Regions from separate parts of the Homo sapiens genome. Here all the other regions are linked to region 5. The links are contacts of gene promoters, found by promoter capture Hi-C in blood cells and fetal thymus (Javierre and others, 2016). All regions are on one chromosome and are shown on one strand. The core of a region is centred on a gene start or on the middle of the fragment in contact, and the rest is flanking DNA. Distances in the headings are between cores, read along the strand shown.

What was found. The method cuts DNA at HindIII sites, captures the fragments that hold promoters and counts their contacts. A CHiCAGO score of 5 or more calls a contact.
Region 1: a fragment that was not itself captured here is called in contact with the fragment with the promoter of GPR162 in region 5 in 3 of 17 cell types (activated CD4 T cells, neutrophils and naive CD8 T cells); the score reaches 5.6 in activated CD4 T cells.
Region 2: the fragment with the promoter of IFFO1 here is called in contact with the fragment with the promoter of GPR162 in region 5 in 12 of 17 cell types (activated CD4 T cells, total CD4 T cells, non-activated CD4 T cells and 9 more); the score reaches 20.2 in activated CD4 T cells.
Region 3: a fragment that was not itself captured here is called in contact with the fragment with the promoter of GPR162 in region 5 in 13 of 17 cell types (activated CD4 T cells, total B cells, total CD4 T cells and 10 more); the score reaches 12.4 in activated CD4 T cells.
Region 4: a contact is called between the fragment with the promoter of C1R here and the fragment with the promoter of GPR162 in region 5, in 5 of 17 cell types (activated CD4 T cells, total B cells, naive CD4 T cells and 2 more). The highest score is 6.4, in activated CD4 T cells.

What each region holds. Positions count from the first base shown.
Region 1 is chr12:7,138,383-7,141,082 of GRCh38, forward strand. The region is part of intron 8 of CLSTN3 (calsyntenin 3); the gene reads left to right. Among named protein-coding and RNA genes, the nearest start is that of CLSTN3, 9.4 kb to the left of the region's middle. The HindIII fragment of the contact is 3,167 bases long and covers 1-2,700 here.
Region 2 is chr12:6,554,628-6,557,327 of GRCh38, forward strand. It overlaps IFFO1 (intermediate filament family orphan 1), which reads right to left and starts at 1,415. Exons shown (of 10, transcript NM_001193457.2): 1 at 630-1,415. The coding sequence starts at 1,402. NOP2 (NOP2 nucleolar protein) reads right to left here. Exons shown (of 16, transcript NM_001258308.2): 16 at 2,244-2,700. The coding sequence ends at 2,366. RefSeq lists an enhancer at 1-392 and silencers at 853-1,032, 1,143-1,382, 1,433-1,592. The HindIII fragment of the contact is 7,963 bases long and covers 1-2,700 here.
Region 3 is chr12:7,115,728-7,118,427 of GRCh38, forward strand. C1RL-AS1 (C1RL antisense RNA 1) reads left to right here. Exons shown (of 12, transcript NR_026947.1): 8 at 1-2,700. It also overlaps a transcript of RBP5 not described here. Among named protein-coding and RNA genes, the nearest start is that of C1RL, 7.9 kb to the left of the region's middle. The HindIII fragment of the contact is 2,416 bases long and covers 84-2,499 here.
Region 4 is chr12:7,091,077-7,093,776 of GRCh38, forward strand. It overlaps C1R (complement C1r), which reads right to left and starts at 1,369. Exons shown (of 11, transcript NM_001733.7): 1 at 1,311-1,369; 2 at 376-604. The coding sequence starts at 1,312. RefSeq lists an enhancer at 1,417-1,711. The HindIII fragment of the contact is 12,054 bases long and covers 1-2,700 here.
Region 5 is chr12:6,820,419-6,823,118 of GRCh38, forward strand. It overlaps GPR162 (G protein-coupled receptor 162), which reads left to right and starts at 1,403. Exons shown (of 5, transcript NM_019858.2): 1 at 1,403-1,482. It overlaps CD4 (CD4 molecule), which reads left to right. Exons shown (of 10, transcript NM_000616.5): 10 at 1-381. RefSeq lists an enhancer at 414-1,386. The HindIII fragment of the contact is 21,739 bases long and covers 1-2,700 here.

The sequences.
Region 1 (2,700 bases), core at 192-2,691, 320 kb after region 5:
CTGACTCTCAGGCAGTTAGCCTGTTGTAATCAAGACAATAAGTCATTCTGAGGTACACAGATTGGGTTTGAGTCCTGCCAAGGGAATTTGCTGGCTATGAAATCTTGGTTAATATGTGTAAACCTCAGGGTTAAAACAACCCTGTTATATAGGGATAAAAAGAATTCTATATCCCAGAGTCGTTAGGATTAAATGATGTAATAGACCGTTGTAGACTGAAAAGCACTCCCTCTGTATATGTTAATTCTCACTATTATCAGCCCTGATTATGGAGGGATAAATAAAAATGGATAAAATATTTAAAATCCTCTCTTGAGCCAACAGTTGCAGCCTCTTCATTATTTATTCTCCAGGCTGACCACAAGGACCAGTGAGGACTAATTTGAGTTTTCACCTCCTTCTGTTTCTCTTGCAAGTCCTGGTGGAGTGGCTGAGTAAGCAAACGGCAAAAAAAAAAAAAAAAAAAAAAAAAAAGCATTAGAAGAGAGAAAAGAAGTGCCCAGATAATTTATAAACTAGATAATTGAGGGCTGTCTACAAAAGTTTTGCTGTCTGTGGCACTCTTTTAAAGAGACAGTCTGTCATTTGCTGTTTCTTGATTCCCCCCTCACACTGCAAATATTGGTAATGTTACCCTTGCTATCTTTCTTCAATTCACCCTCATTTAATCAACCAGTATCTATTAAATACAACTAAGTCTCTGTCATTCAGCTAGGTTCTGGGAATACAATGAATGAAACAAAATCTTTGCCATCATTCAACTTACATTTCAGTTGGGGAGATAAAGTTTTAAAAAGTAAATAGACATGTAAAATGATAAATTGTGAGAAATGCTCTGAAAGAAGCAGGCAAGGGACTGGGGCAGAGCATGGCGGGAGGCAAGGAAAGGAGAACTTGCCTTAGATTGGGTGCTCCTGGGGGACCTGACTGAGGGGAAATTTAAGCCTAGTGCTAAAGGATGAGAAATAGCTGGGTGTGGGAAGAGTGTGGGAAGGTTCCAGGAAGAGGGAAGAGCATATGCAAAGGCCCTGAGGCAAGAAAGAGCTCAGCATGTTCCAAGCATGGAAAGAGGGCCAGTGCGGTTGGAGTACAGTGAACAAGACTGGAGATAAGTTGCAGAGATGGGCAGTGATCAGGTTGTACAGTGGACTTTTTCAGCAGGGTTAGTCTAGATTTTTGTCATATGAGAGACAGGAAGTGTTTTTTGAAGGATTTTAAAGCAGAGGCATGACCTGATCAGATTTACATCATCATTATTATTATTATTATTATTATTTTTTTTTTTGAGATGGAGTCTCACTCTGTCACTAGGCTGGAGTGCAGTGGTGCGATCTTGGCTCACTGCAACCTCGGCCTCCCGGGTTCAAGAGATTCTCCTGCCTCAGCTTCCCTAGTAGTTGGGACTACAGGCGTGTGCCACCACGCCCAGCTAATTTTTGTATTTTTAGTAGAGATGGGGTTTCACCATGTTGGCCAGGATGGTCTTGATCTCTTGACGTGATCCACCCACCTTGGCCTCCTAAAGAGCTAGGATTACAGGCGTGAGCCACTGCGCCTGGCCAGATTTACATTTTAACAAGATCCCCTTGGCAACTGTGGGATGGTTGTATTGAAGGTATCTAATGGTGACAGTAAACAGGACTGTTGCAACAGTCTTCATGAAAGGGGTTGGAGACATGACTGATGTGTGGCAATGGAGACGGAGAGACCTGCACAGAAACCTGCAGCTTGTAGCTCTGTTTGGACCTGGGATCAACAGCACCTGCTAATGGACTGGATGTGGAGGCTGAGGGAAAGGGAAGATCAAAGTTGTCTCCTACGTCAGCCACTTGAGCAGCTAGATGGATGATGGAGCATTTATACTGCCTGGGGAGAAACTGAGGGAGTTGGGAAAGGGCATGGACTTGCACCTTACACGTGTTAAATGTGAGATACTTGTGGGCATCCAAGTGGAGAATCTGGCATTCAGAGGAGAGTTATGGGCTGGAGATGTGGATTTTGGAGTTACCAGTGTATAACTATGGTACCCAAACCCATGGCAACAGATGAGGTGACTTCTAGGAAAAGAGTGTAGAGAGGAAAGAGAAGAGGGCCTAGGTCTGAGCCTTGAGGGACCCCAACATTTGGAACTGGATGAGGCAGAGTACTCTCTGCCCCTTTTTCCTCTGACCATCCCCCATTCCATCTTGGCTGGCCCTAGGAGAGACTGCAAAGGGAAGCAATATTTATTTTAGTGCTTAATGTTGGGTTAGAAGCTATCCTAGAGATAACCTGTGATCCCAGCTACTTGGGAGGCTGAGAGGATCACTGGAGGCCAGGAGTTGGAGACCAGCCTAGGCAACATAGTGATAGCTCATCTCTAAAAAATAAAAAAATTAGCTGGACATGGTGGCACATACCTGTAGTCCCAGCTACCCCAGAGGCTGAAGTGGGAGGATTGCTTGAGCCGAGGGGTTTGAGGCTTCAGTGGGCTATGATTGCACCACTGCACTCCAGCCTGGGGGACAGAAGGAAACCCCATCTCTAGAGTTTCCAGTGCCTTACACACATATGTAATACATAAGTTCGGGGGGCAGGGAATTTATTCATGAAAGTGTGTTACTCCTCTTAGGAATATTTATAGCTTTAACGATTTACCTGAAGAGTGGAATCTTTGCTACTAGGTTGGTTGCCTGATAGATTTTGGACAAGGATGTTATT
Region 2 (2,700 bases), core at 165-2,664, 270 kb before region 5:
AAGATTCCCCTGTCAGCCCTGCTCTCCACCCTCACCCTAGTGAATTCCCTTCACTCTTTCTTTTCCCAGTTTGTTGACCTACTCAAGCAATGGCTTGAGGTCCCGGAGCTTTTCCTATGAAACCACAGCAGGTACCTGGTTTCCATCAATATTCTTTGGGAAACCTTGGGGTGTGAAAGAATCACTCGTTGCAAGGTACAGCCCCTCCCTCACCAGCCCCTTCCAGTTTCACTCAATTTAGTCTCCCAAATTTACGCTATATCCTTGCCTCCTACTTTTGAAGTTTATATCCCTAACCTGCCCCAGGGCTGAGACCGGTAGGGCAGAGCCCCAGTCCCTTTCACACCGCACAAAACCCGCAGTTAAGCCTGGATGGCAGAGACAAGCCGGAAAAGTAGGAATCCCCCCGTGTTCCGCTCCCAGCGTCCTTCTTCCTGTCACGAGCAGGGCTTCTGCATTCTCTGCGGATTCTAGTCTCCCTGCATCCAATTGCTTCCAAGCTCCTCATTACACAGCACAAACTTTACTCTCATTCTTTTCACCCCTGATTCTTCGGAACCCACACCAACTCGCGGCCCGTTGTGAGTGGTATGACACAGAGAGACCTGTCCCCCTTTCCCAATCCCTACCTCCGCTTGTACTCGTCCCGCTCCCGCTTCACTTTGGCCAGCACGTTGTAGAGAGCGCGGATCTCGGGCGTGATGGTGTCGATCTGGACGCCCACCCCATCCGGGTGCACCCACGACAAGCCAGGCCCTTGCACCAGAGTGGGCTCCAGTCCCGGCCCGAGCCGGCGGGCGTGCGAGAACGACCAGATGGTGCCGGGCATGAAGCGGGCCGACGAGGAATAGGTGGTGGAGGTGGAGGTGGAGGACGACGAGAGGCTGGCCGCGGAGGGCGCGAGGGGGCCGGCCGGGGAGCGCGCGGGCGAGCCCAGCACGCGCGCCGAAGGGCTGCAGACAGCGGCCGGCCGGGCGCCCAGCTGCAGCCCCAGGGGCCGGATGGGGCTGACGAAGCCGGTCTGCACTGCCTGGTCGCGACGACCCAGGCCCCGCCGGCCCTGCTTACCCTCCTCCAGCGCTTGCTGCAGTTGCTTCTCCAACAGCCGGTTCCGGCGCTCCAGCTCATGCACCTTGGCCAGGAAGCAGCGGAACCGGAGGTTCAGGGTCTTGAGCACGTTGATGTTGGAGCCCAGGTCATTGCGGAGGGCCATGGCGGCAGGCGGGGCCGGGCCCGGCCCGGGCGGCGAGTAGGCAGCAGGGCCGGCCGGCGAGAGAGGCGCCGGGGGCAAGTCTCCTCCCCCGGCGAAGTGGTCGCCTCCCAGTGAGTCCCCCAGTGGCCCGGCCAGGCCCTGCTGCTCCTGCTGCAGGAGGAAGAGGTTGGGGCCGAATAACGGATTCATGGCTGCGCCTTCTGCTGGGAGATGCAGACCGGTGCAGGAGCAGGGATGGAAGGCGAGCCAGAAGAGCCAATGCGGCGCCGGCGGGACAGAGCCGACCAATCAGGCGGCTCGGCAGCGGGGCAGAGGTCAGGGGGCGGGCCGAGGGGAAGCCAATGACAGGCTCCAATTGGAGGCCGGACCCTGGACCTTTCCGGGTCTGAGGCCGAGCCCTGTGATGAGGGGAGCCACCGCCTGGACTCCAGCCGGGGTGGCGTAAAGCCCAGGACCTCCAGTACCCCATGGGTTCTGGTGGCAAGCCCATCTCCCCTACACGACTTTTTTTTTTTTTGAGACCGAGTCTCACTGTCGCCCGGGCTGGAGTGCAGTGGCGCGATCTTGGCTCACTGCAACCTCAGCCTCCCAGGTTCAAGCGATTCTCCTGCTTCAGTCTCCCGAGTAGCTGGGATTACAGGCACCCGCCACCACACCCGGCTGATTTTTTGTATTTTTAGTAGAGACGAGGTTTCGCCATGTTAGCCAGGCTGGTCTCGAACACCTGACCTCAGGTGATCCACCCGCCTTGGCCTCCCAGAAAGTGCTGGGATTACAGGCATGAGCTAGTGTGCCCCGCCTTCCCCTACACTTCTATTGCCCTCCTCTCCCCGGAGTTCAATCACCCCTAGCTCTGACTCCAGGGCTTTCCCTTCCTGGGAAAACCCAAGGATGCAGGAGCCTAAAACTGACCTTATTTCTCAGTAGCACCCAACCATTCCCTCTCCTCAGAAGATCCCAGTCCCACCTCCCATCTTTACCCTTAAAGCGGCAAAGGCAGCACCCAGTTCCCTCAAAAATACTCAGTGGCCAGAGGTTTTAAAATGTGTATTAAATTTCATGGGTATGCACAGTAGAGAAGGCATCCTCACAGAGGCAAGAGTTCCAACCTGGTGACAATGGCAGTGAGCCACCCGTCTAGTTTTCAACCATCTAAGATAGCAGCAGCTGGCTGTTGCCCCTGGACTGAGATTTCTTCCTCTTTGCTGGTGGGGGGCGGCTGGAACGGATGGGAGACACAGTGGGAGGCTGAGGCCCCTTGGGGGTATCATTCTGTTTCTGGAAGGCAGCTTTCTCAAAAGGCTGCTCTGGCAACTGCTGCTTCTCAACCCCCTTGGCCCTTCCAAGGGGCTGATGATGGTCCTTAGGTTTCAGGGTGGCCTGAGTCTTGGATGGGGATAACACAGCCGGTGTTTGTGTGTCTGTGCCCTTGGGAGGGGCATTCTGCCTGAGGAAAGCAACTTTCTTGGAGGACTGTAATTTAGGTG
Region 3 (2,700 bases), core at 42-2,541, 300 kb after region 5:
CTGGGGAATTCATGAAGAGAAGAAGTTTAATTGACTCACAGTTCTGCGGGCTTAACAGGAAGCATGACTGGGAGGCCTCAGGAAGCTTATAATCATGGCAGAAGGCGAAGGGGAAGCAAGGACCTTCTTCACATGGCAGCAGGAGAAAGAGAAGAAGGGAGAAGTCTACACACTTTTAAACAACCAGATCTCATGAGAATTCCATCGGGAGACAGCACTAGGGGGATGGCACTAAACCATTAGAAACTGCCCCCATGATCCAATCACCTCTCACCAGGCCCCTCCTCCAACACGTGGGGATTACAATTCCACATGAGATTTGGTTGGGGACATAGAGCCAAATCCTATCAGCTGGTATCCTCCTTTTTCCAGGCTTTAGATATGGCACAACCTGATGGCTTCTGCATAAAGCCTCCTCTCATCTGCATCTCTCCACCTCACTCACCCTCTTTTCAGCAAAGAACCCTCTGGCTCTAGTTTCACTGTGGTGGTCCTGGGAGAGGTAGAGAAGACCCAGAGGCTCCTTACCCTGGGAGGTCAAACTGACCATCCAGGTTTGGCTCTTCCCTGCTGGTGTGTCTAGAACACCATCTTCCCCTTATTGCTGTGGACTTCAGGGCTCTGCTGCTCTGTCCTCCACAGAACTTGTCAATCAGCTTCCTACCAGCTAAGATCTGGTGCTGTCTGATATATCCTCCCTGCGGCTTGTCACTCATGCTGTCTAATGGCGTGAGGTGCATTGAGTTGTATTCTGATGTCTTTGTCCTTTTGAAGCCACAGAGTAAGGTCACACAACTTTGAAACGAGCAGGGTACCATCTGAAGATGCTGGACATTCCTTTTAACAATTACCTAGGGGAGAGGCAGTCCTCAGACAGGACTCAGGTGGGTGGGCCTCAAAGAGGAAGGGAAAGGGGGCAGCTGCCTGCCTCTGAACTTCACTCTCTAGACTCGTGGAAGGGTCTAGCTTAGAGCTAGGATGGGAGGGCTGTGAGCACTGAGGATGGAGTCATGCCTTTTTGTGACTGGACACATTTTTACTGCCCGAAGTCATCTACTGCCCCCACCCCCCAACCCCATTCTTCTGCCCACTTAGCGAATATTGAGGTTATGGTCAGGATGGGGTCATTTGCAATGAAATTCAAGGTTGAGACTATGTTGCAGTTATCTGTCTGCTTGTAAAAAGTCACCCCCACATTTTGTTTAAAACAGCAAGTATGTACTATTTCACACAGTTTCTGTGGGTCAGGAATCCAGAAGCGGCTGAGATGGGTAGTTTAGGATCAGGGTCTCTCACAAGGCTTTGGTCCAGGTGCAGGCTGCAGTCCTCCAGAGGCGGGACTGGGGCTGGAGGTCTGCTTCCAGACGGTCACTCACATGGATGTGGGCAGGCGGCCTCAGTTCCCTGCCACATGGCCCTCCTCATAGGACGCTTGAGTGTCCTCGCGGCATAGCAGCTGGCTTTCCCCAGAGTGACCCAAGGTGGAAAGAACAAGGCAGAGGTGACAGTGTCTTTTATAAGCCAGCCTTGGAAGTGACGTAGCATCATTTCTGCCTTATTCCATTGGTCACACAGACAACCCGATGTGGAAGGAGACATCACAAGGACAGGAATACTGGGAAGCAGGTATTGTTGGTGGCTGTCTCGGACGCTGGTTCTCATAGAAGTAGATGTATTATTTTAGTACAATAAGTGCAGACGATCAGCTAGCAGGATGTTATTTTTGCTGGGTATGGTTGTATTTCAGGTGCATTTACCCAAATCCAGAGTACCTTTGGGGGCTCTGACCCTCTCCTCCTCCACCTTGAGATCTGTAGAGGCCTCTCGTTCATCCCACCAAGAGCAGGACTGGACAGATGAAAGCATGGCTTACAGGAGGCCAACACAATAGGAGGTAGGGCTTTGGGAAGACAGCATAGGTTTCAAAAGAACCAAGAAGCTGTTGAAAAGGAGAGCAGATGGGCAGGGAAGACAAGTCCCAGATAGAATGCCCTTTGCAACCTAGGGGGAGCTGACCACAGTGTGCATCCTGACACTCGAAGACAAGGTCTCCATCAGCAGATTGCCCAACAGAACAAGTTCAGAGCCCAGAGATCCCAGTTCCAGATCTCAGATCTCCCACACCCTGTGGGCTCTGTGTGGACTTTCGTCCTGAAACAAAGTCCTTTAGTAAAGGACTCTTTAAATTCACTCCATCTGTGCTTTGCTTGCCAATAGCAGGGTGCGTCTGTTACATACTGGACTATCCCTTCCTTCAATATGTTCATGGCTGAGGCTGCATTTGTGCCTCAGATAATCAAGGTGAGTATAACTCTCTGTTCTGTTTCCCTTTTGTTTCCTCCAAGACTTTAATAAACCCTCATTCAAGAGGCCCACCTTGTCCCACCTGTGCTTCTCAGAAAAGAAGGAGTGGTGGGGAGACAGGCTGGGGTGGGGGCTTTGCCACCTGGCTGCCCCTTCACCTGTGGGTTCTTGCTCCAATGAGGACCCAGCAGGATAAGCTTTAGTTTCATTAAGGGTGACAATAGTTTCCTTACAGCTGGGTCAAGGATATGAGCGAGCCTCTTCCGAAAACAGCCGGGAAGGGAGAGGAATCCAAGAGGAGGAGCAGGTGGGAAAGACAAGACAGAAGGTGGATCGGGACCAGGCCTGGGAGGGAGCACAGGCACACAGAAGTGAAAGAATTCGCCTGAGGTTACA
Region 4 (2,700 bases), core at 119-2,618, 270 kb after region 5:
CCTCATGTCCCTGTGTTCCTGTTGAAGCAGGCAGCCATGTCAATCATTTCCTTGGAGACAGGGAAGCTGAGGCACAGTGGTTTCCCAAAGACTCTCAGCTAGACAGCAGATGGGGAAGGTTTTCCTGACTCAGTGGATGTTGAATTTCCTGAGTGGGTCCTGTCCCCTTCCTTCTCTGTGCTTCTCCCCTCAGTGCTCACCGAGGGCCTCTACACCAGTGAGCGCCCATCCAGGGCATCCCCGGGCTCTCAGAGAGGCCGTTGGCCATCAGCTCTTGTGGGGCTGGGCTGTGTCTGGGGGTGTGCATGCCATACAGATCCCAGATCCCAGAGGGCCCAGTTTTGTCTCCCCTCTGCCCGCCCATCCTGCCCCTACCTTGACATAATCATAGAAGCAGCCTTCAGAAGGCTCCAGGTCAAACTGCTGGAAGACGAGCTTCACCCTGTATCCCGTGGGGACTGTGATCACAGTGGTTGTTTCAAAGTTGTTGGGGTAAGGCTTGGGGAACAGAGGGGAAGTCACCTCCCCAAATAACTTCTGAGGGATGGGAATGGAGCCTCCTGCCCTGCAGAACAGGGCCGGCACCAGGAGGTACAAGAGCCACCTGCCAAAACAAAAGAGAGTATCTGGAGCTGGAGGGGTTCAGCACTCTTGCCATGTGGGCAGTGGCTGTGGCAGGGGATGAGACGGCCATACCACTGGGCATTCTCCTCTCTGCCCACCCTGAACCTCACAGACATGTTCTCAGCAGGGGTGCGTGGGTGGGGAGGATGGCCTGTGCAGCTGCTGCATCGGGTCACTCTCCAGGGCAGTGTCCAGTCCAGAGGCCACCACACTCCCCTCACACTCCCTTTCCAGCCTCCTCCCCTGCCCGGACGCGTCCCTCCCCTCCCCTTCCAGGAATAGGACTGGCTTGGGACCAGTTAATGGAGGGTGAGGGTTTCCACCCGTGGGTCTCTGAAAGGGCTCCCACAGGTTCAGCAAGAGCGTCTGGGAGAAACCATCTGTGGAGTGGGGGACACAGGCACAGAGTGTCCCGTCCTGGGCAAGGGGTCCCCTCCTCTCGCTGCTCCCTGCCAAGAGCCCAGAGGGAAGAAAGGACCATGGCATGAGCATCTATGTATGAAGTCTCCTCTGATCCCTAGGAGGAGGGATGGGGCGTGTGTTGTGTGTGTCCACGCGTGTGCACAGTGGAACTGATGAGGTGTGTGAAGAGAGAAGGGTGTTCCTGTCTCCCTGAATTGCCTCCCATGCCCTGGCTTCTCCCCTGGCTTCTCCCTCCCACCTGGTTGCCCATCACCCTTACTCACATTTCTCAAGGCCCGTGTTGAATCCTGGGCTCTCCCGACAGCGTCTTCGTGCACTGTGTGCAGAGGGAGCCCGCGTCATGCACAGCAGGGAGGGGAGGGTTTTCTGTGGAGTGGAGGGGGGACCATTCCCGGAGGAATGTTGGAGGGAATGAACTATTTGCATAAACAAAAGATCTGAGTTTCCACTTTAATTTAGTTTTGGTTTTGAAATCCCTGTTTGTGGTGCCACCTGCTGGTCGGTGAGGGAAAGGGCTAAGGAGACGGGAGTCTGGCTTTTTAGGGCCCGGGGAGCCTTGGGTTGGAGGCCCAGATGTCTCAGTCTCTAAATCTGATCAGCTTCTCCCTTCTTCCAAGACTTTCCTGGGGGCTGCTGCTGTGTTTACAAGGTTCCTACCAAAGCAGTGGGAGACCACAGGTGGTGGTGAATTCTCTTTTCTGGGCTGTCCTTTCCCATTGACCCTGTTCTTCCTGCCCTCATTCAGCCCACAGCCCTGGTCCAAGAATGGCCCGGGTTTCAATGCCCAGGACGTAATGATAGGAACACTGGGGCAGAGGAGGGTGTGTGGGAGCGGGCAGAGGAGAGAGGAGCTTGGTTGCCTTGGGGCCCTGGCCTGCTTTAGCCATGAATGACACTTGGACATAGAATAGGGTTGGCCATGTCAGGGCAACCCTAAATCAGCCCTGGGTTTGAGACCCTCTGGGGCGGCTGCGGAGGGGGTAAAATGTCCCCATCTCCTTAGCATCTGCTCAACACAACTGCCAGGGCTGAAGCTAAGGATGCGGGTGTGGAGCAAGAGGGACTCGGTTTTTCTGAGATGAAGCCAGGCCCCTGGGAGGGAGGAGGGACCCTAGTCTCTCCTGTCCATCAGGCCATAGTGTCCTGCTTTAAAACTTTTGCTCTTGGCCACGTGTGGTGGCTCATGCCTGTGATGCCAGCACTTTTCGAGGCCAGGGTGGGAAGATCTCTTGAGCCCAGGAGTTCGAAACCAGCCTGGGCAACATAGTGAGATCTCGTCTCTAAAAGTTAAAATAAATTAAAAAACAATTTCATTGTTTTTGGAAGGCTTTCTTCATCAACTCTCCATGGCACCAAATATCTGATGGCACTTCATCCCACGGAGGGGCTTGGGCTGCAGAGCAGGACTCTGCGTTCTTAAGCCTTTGTAGGCTGTTCTGCTTGTTTCCCTTATTAGATGAATCCCTCCAACCTCCACCCTTCTGCCCCCACCCCCGTTCATCCATTTATGGGCTACCTGTTTAATGTGCAAGACACTTTCCCAGGCAATAGATTGCAAGAATTCACAGAGCTGATGCAGTTCCCCATCAGGCAGTGACCACATCATCAGTAGTTAGACAGCAGGCACACAGAAGGTGCAAGATCCACCAACGC
Region 5 (2,700 bases), core at 153-2,652:
TGGAAGCGAGCTTTGCTGGGAGAGGGGGTAGCTAGCCTGAGAGGGAACCCTCTAAGGGACCTCAAAGGTGATTGTGCCAGGCTCTGCGCCTGCCCCACACCCTCCCTTACCCTCCTCCAGACCATTCAGGACACAGGGAAATCAGGGTTACAAATCTTCTTGATCCACTTCTCTCAGGATCCCCTCTCTTCCTACCCTTCCTCACCACTTCCCTCAGTCCCAACTCCTTTTCCCTATTTCCTTCTCCTCCTGTCTTTAAAGCCTGCCTCTTCCAGGAAGACCCCCCTATTGCTGCTGGGGCTCCCCATTTGCTTACTTTGCATTTGTGCCCACTCTCCACCCCTGCTCCCCTGAGCTGAAATAAAAATACAATAAACTTACTATAAAGATGCTCTTCGTGTGTGTGTGTGTGTGTGTGTGTGTGTGTGTGTGTGTGTGAGAGAGAGAGAGAGAGAGAGACCCCTTCTCTGGGGACCAGGAATCTTCTGGTCTTTGGGGTCGGACCCAGAGGAGAGGTTGCTGGGCGTGCCCCAGGAAGGAGATGAAGTTTCCCTGGAGAGGGAAAAATTCTGTGGAGGCTGGCTACCCACCTCCACAACCCACAGGGCTCTGTGTGGGCCTGTGTGTGTGTGAGGCTGAGACTCTGTAATTACATGTGTGTGATATACCGTGGGGGAGAGACTCAGGGTTGTGTGAGCTCTCCTGGTGTATGTGTGTGGCAGAGAAAAAGGACTATGAGAAACTGTAACATGTGTGTGCAAATTGTATCCCCAACATATGTGTTTGTGTTCCAGGAGGAGGAGGCAGAGTGTGTGTGTCTGTGTGCATGCATGCGCCCACATCCTTTTAGCTTGTGCACAACCACCCCCAACTCCACAAGCAGCCCCAGTGTGCACCACAAGCCCCCTCACTCCCAAACCCAAGGCCCAGCCCTCACACAGATACACACAGTGACACACGCTTCCTCCTCCCCGAACAGCTAGCTCCTCAGTCCCCAACAACACCAGCTGCCTCTTGGAGCTTGTGTTCGTGTTGAAAACGGGAAGGGGTGGGGGCAGGACATGAACCATTTCACCAATGAAGCCGGTTCCCAGCCATCCTCCTCACCGCCCTCCCTCTCAGCGCCTTCCTTGCCCCTCCTCCCCGAGTCACCACCGTCCAGTTCCCCACCCTGCACTCGTTTCCCGCCCCCCCCCGCCCCCCACAAAGCTGTCCTGCCTTCCCTCTGGCCTGGGCTCACTGGCAGGACGACCCCGGGAGAGAGGGTCCTGGAGAGTGAGAGGGGCAGAGACCGAGTGAGCCGTGGGCTGAGCCTGGGAGGCCGGGACTGAGGGGGAGGAGGGAGGCCCGGGGGAAGGGAGGGAGGGAGAGAGGGAAGGAGGGAGGAGGGCGGGCGAGCTGGAGCCGGCAGGCAGCGGGAGCCCGAGAGAGCCGCGTCGGGAGTGCGGTCTCCATGGCAGTGCTGGGCGCAGCCGGAGAGAGGTAAGACGACCCCTGCCTGCCCCGTCCCCTGTGTTGCCTCCCTTTCCCCCTCAAGCTGCCTCCTCTCCCCTAGGCCGGCCCCTCCTCCCCAGCCACCTGCTGTTTCTGCCCTGGAGAACCTGGAGGGGGACAGGAGGGAGGAGCCGCCTGACCTTACCCCTTCACCCCAAAGGGCGAGGGACCCCGTCGGCCAGGGAACCTCCCAGATCCCCCTTCCCACCTTCCTCTGATCTCTCCCTGTCCTTCACCTCCCTCTCTCTGTCCTTCACATCTTTCCTGCCTCCTTCCCTCTCTGACTCCCTATCTCTTTCATCCTGAGCCCACCAGCTGGGCCTGGGTGGAGGTGGGTGGGAAGGGGTCCAGGGCTGTAGGAGAGGACACTGGGGGCTGCTCTTGGCCAAGTCCCTCCACCTCCCTCTGGCTGGCCATTGCCATGGCAACTAGGGTGTACTGGGCTCCGGAGGGAAGCCAAGGGTGGGGGTGGACCAGGACCTCTTGGGGAAAGCAAGGGTCTGAGCTGCTTCCATGGGAAACAGACCCTTTCACTGCTGTGCCCCATTTTTACCCCACTTACCCTAAAGCCATTATGTGCTTCCTTACAGCCCCACTCTGTTCAGGGTTTCACCCGATTCCCTTACCCCCCTTCCCAGGGCTCACTGAAGCTCAGCATCACGCACTAAAACTGGGACCATCCTTCCTCCCATGAGAGGGAAACTGAGGCTCTGGGCCAGGGAGGAAGAGTCAAGGTCTCCCCACGGGGAGTCAGCACCTTATTGAACATTTGGCTTTTCTTCTCAGCCTCCTATTCCCTGCTCCCTCCCTCCCTCCCTCCTCCAGTCCCTCCTCCCTCCAAAGCCTCCTCTCCAGGGGGTTTGAGCTTTTCCTGCTATTTTCAGATACTACCACTTTGCCCCCTCTTTCTCTTCTGCTCAAACTCTCCTCCTTCTCCCTAGTTCCCCCTCTTTCCATTTCTGGATGCTTCTGATGTCAGCGGTTTCCCCGCCTTCAGGTTCCCTAGCACCCCCTTCGGTCCCAGACTCCTTTCTCCCATTTTCCCAGATATGGGTAGCTGGAGGGTGATCACCCAGGTTTGGGGAAGTAGGGGCTAAGCACCAAGACCCCTGCATCCAGGAGACCGGCAGGTAGGGGAGGAAGGCTGTGATGCCATATCCCAGTTCACTGTGAACCCTCAAGAGGAAACCAGTCTTGTGTCTCCCA